2 separate regions of the Homo sapiens genome follow, and region 1 is linked to region 2. Evidence: promoter capture Hi-C in human tissues and cell types (Jung and others, 2019). All regions are on one chromosome and are shown on one strand. Each heading gives the region's core, a stretch centred on a gene start or on the middle of the fragment in contact. The rest is flanking DNA. Distances are from core to core; before and after follow the strand shown. Region 1 overlaps PEX26 (peroxisomal biogenesis factor 26). Region 2 holds the start of BID (BH3 interacting domain death agonist).

The links. The method cuts DNA at HindIII sites, captures the fragments that hold promoters and counts their contacts. A contact is called where the count stands out against the background at its distance.
Region 1: a contact is called between a fragment that was not itself captured here and the fragment with the promoter of BID in region 2, in 2 of the 25 tissues and cell types used here (IMR-90 fibroblasts and dorsolateral prefrontal cortex).

What each region holds. Positions count from the first base shown.
Region 1 is chr22:18,095,166-18,097,932 of GRCh38, forward strand. PEX26 (peroxisomal biogenesis factor 26) reads left to right here. Exons shown (of 5, transcript NM_001127649.3): 5 at 1-2,767. Among named protein-coding and RNA genes, the nearest start is that of TUBA8, 14 kb to the right of the region's middle. The HindIII fragment of the contact is 8,441 bases long and covers 1-2,767 here.
Region 2 is chr22:17,773,146-17,775,845 of GRCh38, forward strand. It overlaps BID (BH3 interacting domain death agonist), which reads right to left and starts at 1,324. Exons shown (of 6, transcript NM_001196.4): 1 at 1,236-1,324. RefSeq lists silencers at 833-1,162, 1,193-1,262, 1,283-1,332, 1,353-1,452. The HindIII fragment of the contact is 15,001 bases long and covers 1-2,700 here.

The sequences.
Region 1 (2,767 bases), core at 125-2,624, 320 kb after region 2:
CTGAAGGGTGGAGGTGGGGCAGGGGAGGGCTCTGTGCTTTGGCATCTGTTTAGTAGTATCGTCGCCCAGCTCCCTCCAGAGAAAGAGCAGGAGGTGTTCTTCTCAGATGTACCAGCAATGACAAAGCCTGGCGGGTGTCCTCCTGGGTAGGTATAAATACAAGCTGGTAGTTTCATTGGATGACTCACACAGATAAGCCATGCTCTTGGTTACCAGTGGACTTAGCTGGGTCTCAAAGAATGGGCTGCTTTCTCTGGAAAGCTGGGGAGCTGGTAAAATTTTTTGGTCGCCCCACCAGAGACATCCTACCCATTCCCAGTCCCTCTGTGGGCTCTGACATCTCTGTCCGGCGGGCACCCCCTGCTCTGGAACATTCTGGGAATGCTTCCCACTCCCCTTTTAGTACTTGTTTGTGTTCTGTCCTGTTCCTGGATTTCATGGTCTCCATGGTGACAAGTGCTTGTTTTCAGAGGTGCTAAAGACAATGGCTAAAAGATGTGCTCTATTAATCCTCCCAGGAAACATATTTTGCAAAAGCCTTTTTTTTTTTTTTTTTGAGAAACAAGGCCTAACCCCAATGGAGTAATTTGCTGCGTAAATGAGAGACATCATGGGATTGTGGTTAAGAGTGTGGGTCCCAGACCCATAATGCCCAAGTTTGTATCTTTTTTTTTTGAGACAGAGTCTCACTCTGTCGTCCAAGCTGGAGGGCAGTGGCATGATCTCGACACACTGCAACATCCACTTCCTAGGTTCAAGCGATTCTCTTGCCTCAGCCTTCCGAGTAGCTGGAACTACAGGCACACACTACCACGCCTGGCTAATTTTTGAATTTTTAGTAGAGACGGGGTTTTACCATGTTGGCCAGGCTGGTCTTGAACTCTTGACCTCAAGTGATCTGCATGCCTCACCTCCCAAAGTGTTGGGAATACAGGCATGAGCCACCACACCCGGCCTGAGTTTGTATCTTGACTCACCTGCTTTGACCTTCAAATAATCTTTCCTGTGCCTCAGTTACTTCATAGGTTTGTTGTGAGGATTAACTGGTGCTAATCCATGTAAAACACTGAAAAGGTGCATAGCATGTAGTGAGCAGGTGCTAGTTATTATTACTGTTGCTCTTAATTAAGTGAGGTAAGGAGGGGAGAGTTGGAGTGGTAGAACCCAGCATCTTGTGAACATCAGACCACAGAAAAGGCAGCACTTCTGATTCCTGTTCTTAGCCTAGGAACTAGGCTTTGCAAATGGCTCTGAATTTTTTTTTTTTTTTTGAGATGGAGTCTCGCTCTGTCGCCCAGGCTGGAGTGCAGTGGCACGATCTCAGCTCACTGCAAGCTCTGCCTCCCAGGTTCATGCCATTCTTCTGCCTCAGCCTCCCGAATAGCTGGGACTACAGGCGCCCGCCACCACACCCGGCTAATTTTTTGTATTTTTAGTAGAGATGGGGTTTCACCGTGTTAGCCAGGATGGTCTCGATCTCCTGACCTTGTGATCTGCCCACCTCGGCCTCCCAAAGTGCTGGGATTACAGGCGTGAGCCACCACGCCCGGCCGGCTCTGATTTCTTAAAGTGCTAAGCCTTTTTATATATTCATTTCAGACCATGTTTAATTTTCTAAATATGCAATACATTCATAGGGTTTTTGAAAAGGCTTGAAAAAGTCTAGTGTGAAAGCAGTCTGTATTAGTCCATTTTCACACTGCTTTAGAGAAGTATCAGAGACTGGGTAATTGTTGAAGAAAAGAGGTTTAACTGACTCACAGTTCTGCATGGCTGTGAGGCCTCAGGAAACAAGCAGTCATAGTGGAAGGCAAAGGGGAAGCAAGGCACATCTTACATGGCAGCAGCAGAGAGAATGAGGGGGGATGCCACACTTTAAAACCATCAGAACTCGTGAGAACTGACTCACTATCACAAGAACAACAGGGGAGAAACTGTTCCTGTGATCCAGTCACCTCCCACCAGGTCCCTCCTCCGACGTGGGGATTACAGTTTGAGATGAGATTTGAGTGGGGACACAGAGCCAAACCATATCACCTCCCATCTCTTCATTTAGCAAGTTCACCTACCCCAATGGCAGCTATGGCCGTTAGTTTTTTTTTTTTTTCTTTTTTTTGAGACAGAGCCTCACTCTGTCGCCCAGGCTGGAGTGCAGGGGTGTGATCTCGGCTCACTGCAAGCTCCGCCTTCCGGGTTCACGCCATTCTCCTGCCTCAGCCTCCCAAGTGGCTGGGACTACAGGCTCCTGCCACCGCGCCCGGCTAATTTTTTGTATTTTTAGTAGAGACGGGGTCTCACCGTGTTAGCCAGGATGGTCTTGATCTCCTGACCTCGTGATCCACTTGCCTCGGTCTCCCAAAGTGCTGGGATTACAGGCATGAGCCACCGTGCCTGGCCACAGCCATTAGTTTTAAATTTACTCTTCCAGAGGTAAATTTAATACACCAATACAAAACCAGTATGGATATAGATCCTAGTTTCTTCTCCTTTTTATAAAAAAAACCTGTAGTATATTATGTACTCTGTTTTATTCCTTCCTTTTTTTTTCTTATAAAAAATACAGAGATGGGGTCTTACTACACTGACCAGGCTGGTGTTGAACTTGCCTCAAGTGATCCTCCCATCTTGACCTCCCAAAGTGCTGGGATTATAGGCATAAGCCACCACACCCAGATGATTTTTTTATTTTTCAAAGAAGTGGCATGATTTTGATGACAATAAAGGACAATATGTAATTAATGGTAATTATAATACAGCCTTCTAGAGG
Region 2 (2,700 bases), core at 74-2,573:
GGCAGAAGGGGCAGGGACGCACACCCTGGGCCGCAGGCAGAGGCTTGGCCAGGGTCGTCCTCCCGGCAGTGCCTCCCTGGAGCTCTGTCTACCTCAACTCCTGATGCCAGAGGATCCCTCTGCGCTCCCCACACCCTTAAGACCCCAGCTCAGGGAATCTGGTCTCGGTCATCACTCCCAGGGGACTGCAGGGCCCCAGGACGGCACACATTCAGGCCCAGGAGAGCTCCCCCCATCTCAAAGCCTCCTGTGGGTGGAGATGGAATGTGGAAAAACCGCATCCTCTGCAGCTCCCCCACAGTGAGAGCGAGGACTGAGGGTGTGGATAAGGCTCCAGGAAGGGGGTGCAAGCCTGAGAAGGTGGAAGAGCTCTGGGTGGGTCCATCTGCTCCTCACCTGCCCCAACCCTGCCTGCAGGTGAAGGCCGGTCCAGCCGCAGAAGGCCCAGCCCCCAGCCCACTTACAGAATCCGCACTGTGCTCCTCCAGCCGGCCCGGCCCCTCGCTGCCCACCGAGCCATCATGACCCCAGCACCGCTGCACATTCGTATTTGTTGAATGAATGAATGAACCCTTGCCAGCCCAGCCACTTGGTGGCTGAGGGCTTCAGAGCTCTCCCAGGGTCCCCTGGGGTCATTCAGCCACTCAACAGTTTCCCAGCAGCAGCAGCGAGGATCCGCACATCATTGCCAGTGCTCTAAGGAGCGGGCGAGCCCCAGTAAGCGGCCGCTCTGACCGCGCTTTGTCAGCCCTGAGCTCCGCTCGGGAGGAGCCGGCAGGTGTCTGCGGTGCTGGAAAGACCACGGTGTGGGCGGGGATTCCGATCCGCCGGCAAGGGTGGCCTGCACCCGGCCAGGCCCGCGGGTTTTCTCCTCTCCGGGGCTGGCCTCGGCCCCTCCCCCTCCCCGCGCCCCGCACCCCTCCCCTGAATCCCCAGGCCACGTGGAGAGGACACAACAAAGCCTTCCCCGCCTCCGAGGCGGACCCGACCCTCAGCACCGACCTGCCGGCCGCGCCGAGGAGGGCGCCCGGGCGGAGGGGAGGCGGGAGAGACCCGGCCCTCAGGTCGCTGCTGAGGCCTGGGGCTCTGACCCCCCGCCTCCCCTCCTCTGGCTCCCACCGCGGTCGGGCCCAGGGCGGGCGGCGGGCCCTGAGCTCCACGCCGGGGCAGGCGGCAGGCAGGGGTCACGGGCTGGGGCTCGGCGCGTACCCCGGGAGGGGCGCGGGTGCACTCACCACCCTCCAGCCGCGGGGGCGCGGGCGCGTCCGGGCCGAGGCAGCGTCTCCCAGGCGCGCGGACACGGTCGACTACCCGCTTCCTCCTTATGGCGCCCCGCGCGCTTCCTCCTTCGGCCCCCCACGCCCGGGCCCGCCCCGGCCCGCCCCGGCCCGCCCCCGGCGGCTTGCGGGGACCCGGGGAGCCCGCGCCGGCGCGGGGCTGTGGAGCGGGGCGGGGAGCCGGCAGCGCAGTGAGAACCAGGCTTTCCACCCTTACCCCTTACGCGACTGTTTCAGACAGTGTCGTCCAACTTTAAGTTGGCCACTTACTCCAGCGCCGCTGGGATAATTCCTAATGATTCTCTGGGAAACATTCAGAATCCCCAGGCTGTTTCTGGAACAGTCTGGGGTGGTCATTCTAGGTCCTCACGGAACCAGGGGTTTGGAAAGTGGGTGAAGCCATGTGGGTTGCAGAGAATCTGGCCCAGCCCCTCACCAGTCCCTGTGCTTGTTGTTTATTCTTTAATTATTTGGATATCAACTCTGATTTAAAACATCAGTTTAACATATAGATAATGCTGGGACTACAGGCGCACACCACACCCAACTAATTTCTTTTTCAGTTTTTAGTGGAGGTGGTGGGGGGGGGGTCTCCACCTCTGGAGGTCTCAGGCTGGTCTCGAACTCCTGGGCTCCAGCGATGCTTCCCACCTCGGCCTCCCAAGGTGCTGGAATGACAGGCCAGTCCATGCATCCCCGGATGCAGCTCTCACCGGCAGTGCTGCTGCAGAGCCCTTTGTGGGCGTCTTCACTTCTCTTGAGTGTGATACCTAGGAGTGGAAATGCGAATCATAGGGCTGGACGAGCTTCATGGTATTAAAAACTGCCTGCTTTCCAAGGTGATGCACACCGTTCGGCACTTCCACCAGCCCTGTTGGAGCGTCCAGTTGCTCTGCGCCCTCGCGTGGGCTCACTCCCTGAGCCCACTGTGGCTCCTCCAGACGCCCTCACTTCTACCCGGGCTCCCTAGACTCTTGCCTCTTTTATAAAAGGTCAGAGGATGTCACTCACGCTTTAACATCCTCTGAATAAAAGCCAAGTTCCTTTCAGTGGCCCGCAGAGTCCCACGCGACCTGCCCTGCTCTAAGCAAATCCTACCCTGTCCCTGTTCCTCCTCGGCAGCCCCATGGCCTCTGGCTTTCACCAGGCCTCACTTCATTTTCCTCCACAGCCAGCATCGCAGCATGACATACCACGGAGTCGTTTGTGTGTGTGTTGCCTACCTCCCCTCTCGGAATGTAGCCTCCACGAGGACAGGGGCTTGTTTCCTGCATGCTCTTCACTCGGGCTGGGCACTCTGGGGGGCTAACAAATGGAAGATCCTGTGAGCAGGGAAACCGTCAGATGGCATTAGGGGCCGGTGCCCTGCAGAAGACGAAAGGGAAACTTCATGGACTGAGGCCAGGTCATCTGCAGGGTGGTG